3 separate regions of the Homo sapiens genome follow, and all the other regions are linked to region 1. Evidence: promoter capture Hi-C in 16 types of primary human blood cells and fetal thymus (Javierre and others, 2016). All regions are on one chromosome and are shown on one strand. Each heading gives the region's core, a stretch centred on a gene start or on the middle of the fragment in contact. The rest is flanking DNA. Distances are from core to core; before and after follow the strand shown. Region 1 holds the start of TIMM22 (translocase of inner mitochondrial membrane 22). Region 2 has its middle 4.4 kb from the start of GEMIN4. Region 3 overlaps GLOD4 (glyoxalase domain containing 4).

The links. Contacts are between HindIII fragments. The CHiCAGO score rates a contact against its expected background, and 5 or more counts as called.
Region 2: a fragment that was not itself captured here is called in contact with the fragment with the promoter of TIMM22 in region 1 in 6 of 17 cell types (naive CD4 T cells, naive CD8 T cells, non-activated CD4 T cells and 3 more); the score reaches 8.5 in naive CD4 T cells.
Region 3: a contact is called between a fragment that was not itself captured here and the fragment with the promoter of TIMM22 in region 1, in 14 of 17 cell types (naive CD4 T cells, naive CD8 T cells, endothelial precursors and 11 more). The highest score is 15.0, in naive CD4 T cells.

Annotation. Positions count from the first base shown.
Region 1 is chr17:995,177-1,000,004 of GRCh38, forward strand. It overlaps TIMM22 (translocase of inner mitochondrial membrane 22), which reads left to right and starts at 1,953. Exons shown (of 4, transcript NM_013337.4): 1 at 1,953-2,204; 2 at 3,603-3,799; 3 at 4,336-4,408. The coding sequence starts at 1,967. RefSeq lists an enhancer at 1,975-2,666. The HindIII fragment of the contact is 11,380 bases long and covers 1-4,828 here.
Region 2 is chr17:754,250-759,077 of GRCh38, forward strand. It overlaps a transcript of GEMIN4 not described here and the pseudogene DBIL5P. Among named protein-coding and RNA genes, the nearest start is that of GEMIN4, 4.4 kb to the left of the region's middle. The HindIII fragment of the contact is 2,801 bases long and covers 795-3,595 here.
Region 3 is chr17:774,191-779,018 of GRCh38, forward strand. GLOD4 (glyoxalase domain containing 4) reads right to left here. Exons shown (of 9, transcript NM_016080.4): 2 at 4,505-4,554; 3 at 2,678-2,798; 4 at 1,585-1,729. Among named protein-coding and RNA genes, the nearest start is that of GLOD4, 5.7 kb to the right of the region's middle. The HindIII fragment of the contact is 464 bases long and covers 2,694-3,157 here.

The DNA of each region.
Region 1 (4,828 bases), core at 703-3,202:
CTGGCCCAAGTAGGCAGATGCTTGCTACGGCACTGCCTTCAGGCCATTAGCAAAAAGTGTGCTTAAATGCCCAGAGGTGTTCCCAGGCCACGTTTTGTTCATACGAGGAGTACAAAATGATGCCAAAGTGTTAGCATTCTTGGGACTGAAAACCTCTCTCCAACATCCCCTAGGATTTTCCTGGATATGACCAGAAATCCATTCCCAATTTCTCTGCCTCCAGGCCCCAATTCTGGTTTCCTCAAAGAGGAGGAAGTGTTCTTGGTTCCCAAAATATGCTTGCAGTGCAGTGGTATAATGGTAAATGTTTAACAACAATAACAAAAAGGCCCTAACTGGCCGGGCGCAGTGACTCACGCCTGGAATCCAAGCACTTTGGGAGGCCGAGGTGGGTGGGTCACCTGAGGTCAGGAGTTTGAGACCAGCCTGGCCAACATGGTGAAACCTTGTCTCTACTAAAAATACAAAAATTAGCCGGGCATGGTGGCATGTGCCTGTAATCCCAGCTAGTCGGGAGGCTGAGGCAGGAGAATCGCTCAAACCCGGGAGGTGCAGGTTGCAGTGAGCGGAGATTGCACCACTGCACTCCAACCTGGGTGACAGAGCAAGACTCTGTCTCAAAAGAGTAATTTTAAAAAGTAAGGCAACAAATTATCAGGAGTTTTTGAGCTGGTTGTTAAGCACAGTTATTATTAAAAATTACATTCTATACATTTATAATAAATTACACTAAAAATAGGTAATATGTGCTCAAAACTCATCCCCTCCTAAAAATTTTACTACACTGTACTCCTATCTATGCTGTTGAGGTTATTTCCATAGATTGTATCTGTGTGATAGAAACACCATGTAACCACATGCTGCTGTACGTCTTCCCAATTCTGACTGATGACCTCGCTTGGTAGTTTGAAATCAGCCATGATGGGGATATTAACACCACACAAGTCAGCAAATGCTGTCAGTTAGGATTTTTTTTTTTTTTTTTTTTTTTTTGAGACGGAGTCTTGCTCTTGTCGCCCAGGCTGGAGTGCGATGGTGCGATCTTGGCTCACTGCAACCTCCACCTCCCGGGTTTAAGAGATTCTCCTGTCTCAGCCTCCCGAGTAACTGAGATTACAGGCGCCTGCCGCCACCTGGCTAATTTTTATATTTTTAGTAGAGACGGGGTTTCCTGCTTCAGCCTCCTAAGTAGCTGAGAATACAGGCGTGCACCACCATGCCCAGCTAATTTTTTTATTTTTTATTTTTTTAATTTTTAGTAGAGATGGGGTTTCACCATGTTTGTCAGACTGGTCTCGAACTCCTGACCTCGTGATCCACCGGCCTCGGCCTCCCACAGTGCTGGATGACAGGCGTGAGCCCCCGCGCCCGGTCCGTGCATTTACAGCACAAGTTCACGCTTATCTACAAAGCATCCACCTCTCACCGCACCTTCCGGGACCACGGGATTTAACGCCTCACCGCCCGATGACAGCACGAGGTGGAAAGGGCAGCGACAATGCTCGCGCGTCCCCTCCCGGCGATCCGGAGCACGGCAGCCCCGGAGCGCGCGGCCACTCCTCGCTCCCCTCAGGAGCTCGTAAGAGCCCCGCGCGGGGCCGAGGCGCGAGAGCACGCGCAACGCTTCCTGGGAAATGTAGTTGGGTGTCGGATTAGAACTACAAATCCCGGTACTCACCGCGCTGCAGCCCCGACCGTGAGGGCGCTTTCTGGTGAATCTGAATCTCGTTTGTCTGTGACATGGGGAAAGCTGTCCAAGCCCAATTCCATTTTCACAAGAGGCTTTCTTTTTGGAAACATGATAGCGGTCTCGCTGGTGTGCGCACCAGGAGCGTTGCGGCCGCGGCTTCCTCCTGCGGCGAATCTGCCGTTGCATCACAGTGGCTAGTCTCAGGGCCCGCAACGTGACGCTTGTCGAATCTGCTGCGGGGAGAAGGACGCGAGGGTTGCTTGGGCAGCGACTGTCATGGCGGCGGCCGCCCCCAATGCCGGAGGCTCGGCCCCTGAGACAGCGGGTTCCGCCGAAGCTCCGCTGCAGTACAGCCTGCTCCTGCAGTACCTGGTGGGTGACAAGCGTCAGCCCCGGCTCCTGGAGCCTGGGAGCCTGGGCGGGATCCCAAGTCCAGCCAAGAGTGAGGAGCAGAAGATGATCGAGAAGGCGATGGAAAGCTGCGCTTTCAAGGCTGCGCTGGCCTGCGTGGGAGGTGAGGCCGGGCGATGGGACCCTTGGGAGGCTGAGGGCCTGGACGGCAGTGGGGATCTCTGCCGAGAAGACCACGCGCCTGGGAGGCGAGGGACTGCGGGCCTTGACCTTGACCACACCCTCGCCTCGTTCGTGAATCGGGCGTCACCTCTCCTGCCCCCTCAGGCCGGCTTTCCTGATGAAAATTGGGTTAGAGAATCGGTGCTGTGGTTGGGGCCTGAAAGTTATTACATGACATCCTGGCTAACACGGTGAAACCCCGTCTCTACTAAAAATACAAAAAATTAGCTGGACGTGGTGGTGGGCGCCTGTAGTCCCAGCTATTCGGGAGGTTGAGGCAGGAGAATCGCTTGAACCCAGGAGGCGGAGCTTGCAGTGAGCCGAGATGTGCCACTGCTCTCCAGCCTGGGCGACAGAGCGAGACTCCGTCTCAAAAACAACAACAAAAAGTTATTACGTGGGTGACTTCATTCATCCGTTCATTCCCTTAAATTCATTCTCTTAAATAATTCTTTCAACAAATTGTTCCTAAGCAATATCACGTGCCAGGTGAAAGAGACAAGAGCCTGGTCTTCATGGGGCCTGTATTATACTATGTGGAGAAGAATGTTGAGCAGGAACACTGCAGAGGAAGGATGCAGACATATGGAAATGCACATGCAGACGACTCTAGGGCAGCAGTTGTTTGAGGTTTGAAAAACTGAAAGACCATTGTGACTAGACAGCCCCGAGCAAGGAGAGACGAAGTCTGCACTTGTCCTTCTGTTTTTCCCTTAAGTTGAAGGGGAGGTGCCCATGATTTTATTAAACTCATATTGACCATGAGGTCATGAGAGGGCATCCATCTGGACATGTCCAGCCGGCTCAGGAAGGACAGATGTGGCAGCAGTGTGGGATTTGCCATTAGGTAGCTGTGTGGCCTTGGGAGAAGTTGCTTAACCTCTCTGAGCCTCAGTTTATAGAAAGGAGAGGCTAATAGCATCTGTCTCACTGGATTATTGTGAAGAATGAATGAGGCTGTGGCATACTGGCATGTGCTCAGTAAAGCATTACTGTGAATGTCACAGTGGCCAAGAGAGTGATTTGCAAAGTTGATAGCTGAAGTTGAGGGTGGCTGGTTTACATATGAGAGAATGTAGAGAGAATAGAGGGTTAAAGATGGAATCTTGAGAAATGTTAGGGAATGACAGGAGGAAGAAATCTTAGAGACGGAGAAGATGATGTCAGTAACATAGACCCTGGATTGCAAGTCTCCAGGCAAGTGGAGAGTTTGAGTGGCAAGAGGGGGGTGTCCTCTGCACCGGTGGTCATCCAAAAGCATGGTCCCTTCCAGGATGATCCCAATAGAGTAATGCAGAAAACATGCCAAAGACACCTTCATCTCTGTGTTTGCTTCTAGGATTTGTCTTAGGAGGTGCATTTGGGGTGTTTACCGCTGGCATCGATACCAACGTGGGCTTTGACCCTAAGGATCCTTACCGTACACCGACTGCAAAAGAAGTGCTGAAAGACATGGGGCAGAGAGGAATGTCCTATGCCAAAAATTTCGCCATTGTGGGAGCCATGTTTTCTTGTACTGAGTGTTTGATAGAATCTGTAAGTGTCTCTGCCTTCTAAGAAATCCTTGCTGGGGCCACCATTTCATTACTTTTAAAGAGAAATTGCTCTTTAAAAGTCATTTGAAAGTTGTTACTAGAAAGCAAATCAGAAGCATCAGATACATTCTAGGTTGAACTTCCATAAAATAGTCCCTGTGGCAGACTTTGTGTGTGTTTACAGTATGGGCTTGCATTATTTTTTACTTTTTGTAGGCTAGAAGTTAGCTAATGATTTTAAACGAGACTTATTGGAGAGCCCCTTGAAGAAATTTTGATTACATTCCAAATGCTGGGCTTGGTTTCAGCACTCTGGTGCCACCTGCAGGAAGCATCTATGAACGCATACTATATATATATATATATATATATATATATATATATACACGCTGTATACTTAGGAACTATATTTTCAAGAAAGATTAGGTTTCCTTTGGGTAGGGACTGAATGAGCTAACGAGCAACCCTGTGTATTCCTCCTTAATGGTCTGCCTTGGCTTGTTTCTTTGGCTCTAACGTGTACTTCCCTGCCCACAGTACCGGGGAACATCAGACTGGAAGAACAGTGTCATCAGTGGCTGCATCACGGGAGGAGCTATTGGTTTCAGAGGTTAGTAAACGGCTCTCGAATGCTTTTTCTTTGTGGCCTTGGACAACGTGCTGAGGTTGTCATTTCCAAACACACGAGTGTTCCAGGGACACTTGATCTTCTTCCCTCTGACAAATAAATCATGTTTGTTTCTGTGGTAACTCGGTTTTGGAAACTTGTAGGATCTAGATGAGGGTTTCCCATCGTTGGCACTACTGACATTTCGACCAGACGAATCTTTGTCGGGATTGGGTCTGTTTTGTGCATTCTAAGACGTTGAGCAGTATCCCTGGCCTCTACCCACGAGATGCAAGTAGCACCCCCGTCCGTTGTAACAACTTTTTTTTTTTTAAAGAGACCGAATCTCACTCTGTCGCCCAGGCTGGAGTGCAGTGGCACGATGTCAGCTCACTGCAACCTCCACCTCCTGGGTTCAAGCGA
Region 2 (4,828 bases), core at 945-3,444, 240 kb before region 1:
CCAGCTTCTACTCCTGTTAATGATCACAGGAGCCTCATACACAACCATTGTGCATGGCGGCTGGAGTATGGAGTAGTAAATGGTATCCAGAAAGGCAGGTCTACGGTGGCATATGGGATTTCCTGGTACTTCTTCTTTAATAGAAACTATCTTCACAGATCATGACATCAGGTCAGCTGCAGTTCTCACTGGGACCAATAAACAATAGAAGCAACAACCATAAAGACTTAAGAGGACAAAGGAAACCAAACCTCACTGTGTGTCTTCAAGATCTGTTCACATAGTTGCAGGAAGTTGCTGTAGACAAAGTACATTACTAAAGAATGAAGCCCACCCAGGACATCACAGCAACGAAAGAACTATTTCTGGTAACTGTGGACCAGGTGAGAGCCACACTGTAGAACAGCAGTGCTGCCCTCTCTTCTTTGGCGAATGTTATGAAGACATTCTGATGCACTTAGGATCATGATTCATGTTAAATGTAAATTAATTGTAAAAATAATACATCTTGCTCCAAAATGTGGTGACAATTTAGAAGCTGTCCACATAGCCAGACCACTCTGTAAATCACAGAACCTAGAAAGTAAAAATGTGCCATAATTAGGACAGCAGAAAGTAACAGTAAAATAAAGTTTTAAAAAAAAAAACAGAAAATAAGGATTTATCTATTTGTATTTGCTTAAGAAGAGGTTACCTATAGGATGCAGGGGGAATGGGATTGATGGGCATGGGGTATACTGTGAAAGGAAAATAAAATCTTGGGACCAAATTCACTAAGCGAAAAGGAAAAGTTAAGCTTGGAAATTGAGTCATGGAATATGCAAAAAACTTCCTTTTGTTCCTAAACAGATAAGCTACAAGACAGAAGGCCACATATCTCCCCAGGTGGTCTCCCTCACCTGACAATATAAATTAACAGCTTATCTTCATAGGTAAGGGACAAAGACAACACCAGAAACCATCCCTCACCAGCCGAGACAAAACATAGATGTACTGAGCTGAATGCATAACTGTTCCTCTGCCTGCTGCTTTCACTGTAACATATAGATTTGGTGAGCAGTAAATGTAGATTTACTGAGCTGAATGCATAACTGTTCCTCTGCCCGCTCCTTTCACTGTAACATGTAGATTTGGTGAGCGCTAAATGTAGATTTACTGAGCTGAATGCATAACTGACTGTTCGTCTGCCCGCTCCTTTCACTGTAACATGTAGATTTGGTGAGCACTAAATGTAGATTTACTGAGCTGAATGCATAACTGAGTGTTCCTCTGCCCGCTCCTTTCACTGTAACATGTAGAGTTGGTGAGCGCTAAATGTAGATTTACTGAGCTGAATGCAAAACTGACTGTTCCTCTGCCTGCTCCTTTCACTGTAACATGTAGATTTGGTGAGTGCTAAATGTAGACTTACTGAGCTGAATGCGTAACTGTTCCTCTGCCCGCTCCTTTCACTGTAACATGTAGATTTGGTGAGCACTAAATGTAGATTTACTGAGCTGAATGCAAAACTGACTGTTCCTCTGCCTGCTCCTTTCACTGTAACATGTAGATTTGGTGAGTGCTAAATGTAGATTTACTGAGCTGAATGCAAAACTGACTGTTCCTCTACCCCCTCCTTTCACTGTGACATGTAGATTTGGTGAGCGCTGATCAAAGCCTAATAAGAATGTAACCACTTATCTCCCTACCTACCCTCCTGTATTTTTCCTTTCCCTCTTCCCTCCCTTCCTGCTCTTTCCCTTTTAAATACTTGTTAGGAATAATGCTCAAAATCCTAAGGAAATAGAACACTCGAACAAAGGATTCTTAGCAAAGCAATTTTACTTCTGTGCAGAGGGGTGCCTCCTTGGCCAGTTGTCATGAGAGCACACCTGAACAAAGGGGCACGAGAGCCTTTGTTCCTGACACAAGTCCTGCCCCTCTACCCTTTCCCCATTGGCCGGGGTCAGGTCGTACAATCTAAACTAATCGCGCTTGGCTAAACATTTGATTTTTTTAGATAGGGTGGGCCCGTAAAAGAAAGCGGAGAGGAAGGGGAAGGGGTGTCTGTAATGAGCTAGAAAGTTAGTCCTCTTTCCAAATAAGGAAAGGAATGTGAGCTGGTACTGATAACGCCTGGTGCTGTGGCGTGCCTGGGCATCTCACAAAGGCAAAAAGGGAAAAGGAGAAAAAGGGGGCGGGGCGCTATGAATTAAAGAATAAAAGATTGATCAGATTATTTGAAGAGAAACGTCGTCATATCCCACATACTGAGGCCCTAAAAATCCTCTCTGGAAAGTGTGCGGGGGCCACAGATCTGTGGTTGTGTCTCAGGCACATCCTCAGCCTTGGCAAAATAAACCTCTAAATGGGCGAGACTTGTCTCAGACACTTACCCGGTTTACAATACCTTTTCATATTGTTTTCATTTTTGAACCATGTGGCTCTATTGCTTTATATAAAGAGGATGAGGCAAGGGCACTTCTTTATTATCATTGAAGTCAGAGTAAATTTACTATTGATTTCCCCTGAGGTTGGGGTAAGAACTCTTAGAACAAACAGGGAAACTTCTCAACTCTTACCCTGAATTTCAACGGACACGTTGGAGGTCTCCTGAAAACTCTGGCTGCTAAGTCACAGCGGCACTGAGTGGCAGGTGAGAGAGCCAGAAAGCCACATGAAGGAGCACTCACCGTCCCTAGGTTTGTTAATTCCGGTAACATGTCAGACGGACACGGACTTCAGACAGTCCTGCAGGCTAACTAGGAGAGCTCTGGCAACACGGCCGTTCTAAGTCTTCCCGGAGATTTAACTCAAGGCACACTTGTATTTACATGTAGGCTCCACAACCCCTTGATTCAAAAAAACAACTCTGGAGAAGCTGAAGAACTTTCCAACTTCATCTGTTTGAAACAACAGCTTGCAGCCTGAACAACGCAGTGAGACGGTCGCTACAAAAGATCAAAACGTTGGCTGGGTGTGGTGGCACGTGGCTGTGGGCCCAGCCATTCGGGAGGCTGAGGTGGGAGGATCTCTTGAGCCCCAGAGGTCAAGGCTGCAGAAAGCCACGATGGTGCCCCACTGCACTCCACCCTGCGTGATAGAGCAATGTCTCAAAAACCAAAAATGAAACACCAGCTTGGGCAAAGCTATCTTCCTCATGCCATTTTCTAATTGATCATATCCCCCAGATGTGGGAAACTAATCACTTTTGTTTAAAATTAGTTTTTGCGGATCTAATGGGCGTCTAAATAATTTTTTTTTTTTTGAGACGGAGTTTCGCTCTTGGTGCCCAGCTGGAGTGCGACAGCGTGATCTCGCTTCACCGCGACCTCCGCCTCCCAGGTTCAAGGGATTCTCCTGCCTTGGCCTCCTGAGTAGCTGGGATTACAGGCAGGTACCACCACACCCATCTAATTTTGTATTTTTAGTAGAGATGGGGTTTCTCCGTGTTGGTCAGGCTGGTCTCGAGCTCCCGACCTCAGGTGATCCGCCTGCCTCAGCCTCCCAACGTGCTGGCATTATAGGCTTGAGCCGCCGCGCCCGGCCTAAATAATAATTTTTAAAAATTACTCTTTTTTGGTTTAGAATTACTTAGCTGAACTGTGCAGAAGCAAGCTTCTGGATGCCTTGATAAAAAGCCAAAGTTGTACACTAGAGGGCTTTAGGATGAATAAAATGTTAAAAAACGCCAACAGGACGAGGTGGCTGATCACCTGAGGTCAGAAGTTCAAGACCAGCCTGACCAACATGGAGAAAACCCGTCTCTACTAAAAATACAAAATTAGCCATGTGTGGTGGCACATGCCTGTAATCCCAGCTACTTGGGAGGCTGAGGCAGGAGAATCGCTCAAACTCGGGAGGCAGAGGTTGCGGTGAGCCGAGGTTGCGCCATTGCACTCCAGCCTGGGCAACAAGAGTGAAACTCCGTCTTAAAAAAAAACAAAAACAAAAGCAAAAACAAAACGCAACAAAGCGAGACATGACAGGCAATGAAATAAATAAAAGGAGGCAGATCTCCTAAAGCCAAAATGTCCTATGCAGACAAACAGCATTACTGTTCACCCTGCATGGTGCCCACTATCATGCACAGTTGTATATTTAGGAGAAAAACGTTTTGGTACGCCAAAATACAAGATAAGCAGATAAAAGGGAAACCTGTGTGTGTTATTTAGTTATTCGGTACTTATATAAACCACTTATTTTACTACAACAAACTTCGAGGGCCACATTATAGCAGCCCAATACACTGGGAAAAGGAGTTTCTTTTCACAAGGACAATATTACTAGAGATGAACATTAAAAATTACTTAATAATCTAATAGAAAATTGGAAAATTAACATACATTCTAAAGAGAAGCAGAAGTTTACCTGGTTATTCAAAGTTCATATAATAATTTCCACATGTATAAAAAAAAAGAGAAGGGCACGGTGGCTCACACCTGTAATCCCAGGCTGAGGCAGGTGGATCACCTGAGGTCGGGAGTTCGAGACCAACCTAACCAACACGGAGAAAGCCCATCTCTACTAAAAATACAAAATTAGCCAGACGTGGTGGCGCATGCCTGTAATCCCAGCTACTTGGGAGGCTGAGGCAGGAGAATCGCTTGAAACCGGGAGGCGGAGGTTGCAGTGAGCCAAGATCACGCCATTGCACTCCAGCCTGGGCAACAAGAGCGAAACTCTGTCTCAAAAAAAAAAAATAAAAAATAAAAAGAACCAATTACCTAGAGGAGGGCCATATATATAACTTGGTTTGCTTTGAAACTCAAGACTGCTTCCCTAGGATATGGAATTCAAGCTGAATGAAAAGTTGTAGAGCTGGATGAGAATTTATTTCTCTCCGTGA
Region 3 (4,828 bases), core at 1,676-4,175, 220 kb before region 1:
AGCCAAGTCTAGCCTCCCACACTGGAACAGACGGATCTTTCTTTTGCTGAGCACCGGATGATAAACAAGGAGCACTGAACATTCTACAGACTCAGCATGGGGGCATCGGGGACAGGAGGCCGACCAGTGAAGAAGGAGAATTTCCAGGACTCCCTTCTCAGGCCCACTTGCAGGCATACGTTCACCAAGTAAGGGAGTCGGCACAAGTGCCCTTGCCATTCGCCAGCATTTTCCCCGTTTTTGCTTTTGTTTTGTCAGAGCAGGTAGCTGAATTTGCAGGCATTAAATACAAAATGAAACACTGATGAGGCTGCCTCTGCAGTCAACAAAACAAACCCTGCAAAGTTTCCTTCTTGTTCTGTGTGGCAGTCAGCGTGGGGGCTCCTCACTTCCATGCCATCCCTGAGTACCCACGCTCAAGTCTGGGAAACTGACCTCGGCTCCAGAGGAGGCATGGCTAAATGGTTTGGGGGTGATCCTATTTCTCTTGCCAGTGATTGGTTTAGGAGCAGGCACAGTATATCAAATCTGAACAGGAAGTTTGCTGGAAGATTCTAGGAAAGTTTTTCTTCTGCTCCTAAAAAGAAAGCAAAAAGGGCCGGGCACGGTGGTTCACGCCTGTCACCCCAGCACTTTGGGAGGCTGAGGCAGGCGGATCAAGTGAGGTCAGAAGTTCAAGACCAGCCTGGACAATATAGTGAAACCCTGTCTCTACTAAAAATACAAAAATGAGCTGGGCGTGGTGGCATGTGCCTGTAATCTCAGCTACTGGAGAGGCTGAGGCAGGAGAATCACTTGAACCTGGGAGGCGGAGGTTGCAAGTGAGCCGAGATTGCAGCACTGCACTCTAGCCTGGGCGACAGAGCAAGACTCCGTCTCAAAAAACAAATAATTTTTAAAAGTTAATAAAAATACTAAAAAAAAAAAAAAAAAAGCTGAGCGTGGTGGCAGGCGCCTATAATCCCAGCTACTTGGGAGGCTGAGGAAGGAGAATTGCTTGAACCCGGGAGGCAGAGGTTGCAGTGAGCAGAGATCATGCCAGTACACTCCAGCCGGACTGACAGAGTCTCAAAAAAAAAAAGCAAAAAGAAGTCAGCATCTCCTCTCCTACCAGATGGGATTGTGGGAGCATGTGGCCCCACCTGCTCCTGGCAGCTCTCCTGCAACCTTGAGGGGACTAGTTCTAGGAGAGGTACCCGCAGAGAACAACAGAACGTAGAAAGAGAAAATGTGGGGAGCTGGTGAATCATCTAACCTTGAAATCTTTCCCACCTATAGAATGCCTGCTCTGTGAGCTAAAAGATTCTATAACTGTTCAAAGTAGTTGGGTTTTCTGTTATTTACAGATGAAAGAATCATAAATCACTACATTACCAGTAGAACAGAACTAGTCTAGATCCCCTACTGCTATGTATTTAAGTTCTGATATGAGAATGTAGTCTCTCCGATAACAGGTAAAAGCACTGGCTGGGGAAGACACGTCACGTGAACACAGACTCTACAAAAAAAAGACAGGCAGCCCTCACTCTCCTTTCACCAAAGATGCCTTTAGACAGAGGCTTTTACTGGTTCTGGTATAATTACCTGACTGAGGCAGACTGCGATTCTGCAAATAGAACTTATATCCTCCCGGGGCCTCGGTTTCAAAAACACCTTCTGCAACTTCCGTCAGTGGCCACTCCAGCTTCCTGGCGTTGCTGACAGCCTGGCTAGAAGCGAGCGTGATTCCCTACAACAAACAACAGTACATCCAAGTACATGATCACAACAGATATTTTACAGAACAAGACAATGAGCCCAACCCCTATTGCCTACTGCCTTTAGGTAAAATCACCTAAGATTTAACTGGCATCCAACATTTTCTTCTAGTGATTTAAAAACAGGTTTTCAATGTTTTATCCCACAAACATTCAGACCTTTGTGAATAATAGGACAGAAATTGAAATGCCAGTGAAGTCTGATTCATTTAACACCAAAGATAACGTCTTCTAATTCTAAAGATCTAGCCACAGAAATCTTGATGTTACCTGGGTCTGCCAGCTAGCTACCTATTTAAGGTGACCTGTTCTTGCTTTTTTAACAAACAAAACAAAAATAAGCAAACTATCAAGGTTTCCTTACATTTAATCAAAGTGCCTAGAAATGTACACGTGTGCTTTGAGAAGACCAGCCTTGTTTCTGGCTCGGTTTATTATAATGGCCTCTCTGCCTCCAGTCTTGTAAATCCATTACCCACTCTGCAGCCAAAGTAAACTTTCCAAAACGCATCCTATAGTCCACCCCCAGACTGCAGCCAGCCTTGTTTTCCCTTTGCTCAAAGTCCGCCAATGGCTCATTTCACTCGGTGACTTACGGCCTAGGAGGCCCCCTGCAGTCTTACCCCATGGCACTGCCGACCCCATCTCTTACCACGCTCCCCTCTCGTTCTCTATTCCAGCCACACTGGCTTCCTTACACCTCCTCGAACACGCCAGATGTTACCTGACGGCTCTTGCCAGAATATTCTCTGCCTGGAACGCGCATCCCCCAGATATCCACGTGGCTAACTCCCTGACCTCTTTTGAGTCTCTGCTCAAATGTTATCTCTTCACTCACACACACCCTTGGCACTCTACTCAAATTTACAACCAGCCACCTACCCCCAGCCAAAACTCTGCTAGAAAAAAACGGTATTTACCATAAAGTCATTGCCAAGCTTGTAGTCTCCGACGCCATAATTGTAAGTCAGTTCTGCGACAAAATGATCATCCTCAGGCCCAAATCCCACCATTGTTTTACTCCATTTCCCATCATAAGGCCTAGAAAATAAAAGTAAATGAACTCAGTGACTACAGACAAGTCAGCCTCAGGCCACCCCCAGAGAACTACTGGGCACAGAGAGATGAGCATTCCTGTCTGGTCCTAAAAGTTCTCTTAAGGATGAGATGACCTCAGATGGTACAGAAAGCAGCTGTGGGCAGTGCTCATGGGACCCTACTACAAGCTCCAAAGACTATCCAGCATCTACCTGAAGGAAAGATTTGTTCACCTTTTCTGTAAAGCAAGGAACAGAATCCTAAAGACAGTTCTCCAACTGACCTGTTATTTCCTTGACTATCAATCAACAAGCATGAAATTCCTAATAGGCCTTGGACTGTTCCAACTTGTCACGGTACTAAGCTTAAGAGATGGACGGGCGTGGTGGCTCAGGCCTGTAATCCCAGCACTTTGGGAGGCCGAGGCGGGAGGATCACCTGAGGTCAGGAGTTCGAGACCAGCCTGGCCAACATGGTGAAACCCCGTCTCTACTAAAAATACAAAAATTAGCTGGGCATGGTGGCACATGCCCATAGTCCCACGTACTAGGGAGGCTGAGGGAGGAGAATTGCTTGAACTCAGAAGACAGAGGTTGCAGTGAGCCAGGATAATGACCCCGCACTCCCACCTGGGTGACAAAGTGAGATTCTGTCTCAAAAAAAAAAAGATACTGGAAAGCCGCTGCTTCATCTAGAGCATGTACTTATTTGCATTTGTGGCATAATATGAAACATATCTGGTCATTGTCCCTGGTTCCTGTCTCAGAGCTCCCAAAACCTCTGGAATTTCCTGATAGGAATATCTTTTGTTATATTCATAATGAGCCCCTTTCAGTCACACCTGAGTTTATGCTAATGAAGTGACTTAGAGTGGGGCCTCTACATAGACTCAGGATGGGGCTGGTCACCAGAAAGACAAATGATTAGAGGACTGAACTTTCAGTCCCATCCACCAACCTCTGGGAAGGAAAGGGATGGAGACTGGGCTCTATTAGGCTTGAACAATGAGACTCATGAGCTTCTGGGATGCTGAACGTAGGGAGGTGCTGGATTGGAGCCTGCCCAGAAGAGCATGGAAGCTCTGCCACCCACTCCCCATGCCCTGCCCTGTGTATCTCCTCTGTCCAGCCATTTCTGACTCGTACTCTTTATGATAAACCAGTAAATGTAAGTAAGTGTTTCCAGCGTTTCCCTTAGTTCCATGAGCCACTGTAGCAGACTATCAAACCCAAGGAAGCAGGAGCGGGAGCCCTGACTTGTAGTTGGTCATCGGAAATCCTGAAGATCCAGACTGTGACCGGCGCCTGACGTGGCGGAAAATCTTCTGGGACTGAGCCCTTAACTTGCAGGATCTGACATTAACTCCAGGTAGAGTCAGAATCAATTAAATAACAGGACAGCCGGCTGGTGTTAGAGAGCTGGAGAATCCCTTTGTGTCCCACAGGTGTTGTATGAGAGTGCAGAGAAATGTGTTCCCGACGCTCCTGAAGTTGCCTCCCTAATTTACTGCCTTCTTAATTAATTCCACTGCTTTATACTCATGAGAGTGCAGAGAAACAGTATGTGTTCCCGACGCTCCTGAAGTTGCCTCCCTAATTTACTGCCTCCTTAATTAATTCCACTGCTTTATACTCACTTTGAGAAACTGTCTTCTGTTATCCGGGTGTAGTCAGAGCCTAAAGGAGATTTTAAGAAACAAGGTATCATACCCATTACAGGCAGCTTTGCAGCCTTCTTCAAATTCCTCATGCCGCAGAACCTGGTGTGAGATTTAGAATAAATTGTGAAGTGTTGCTAGTACTGCTCACAGCGTCTTTAGCACAGACTAAAATGTCAAAACACAAACATTATCATTTATAAGCTTTACTTGTAAAAGAACAAAAGCAAATGAGCTTTACACTTCTCCCAGGATAGAAGCAGTGGAAGGACGAACAGCTTGACACCAAGGGTCAGGCTACCAAATCAGTTGTGAAATCTATTTAGATTGGTAAGCAGTGCTATGCAGTGGGAAAAAGTGTGGCCTTCAGCATTAA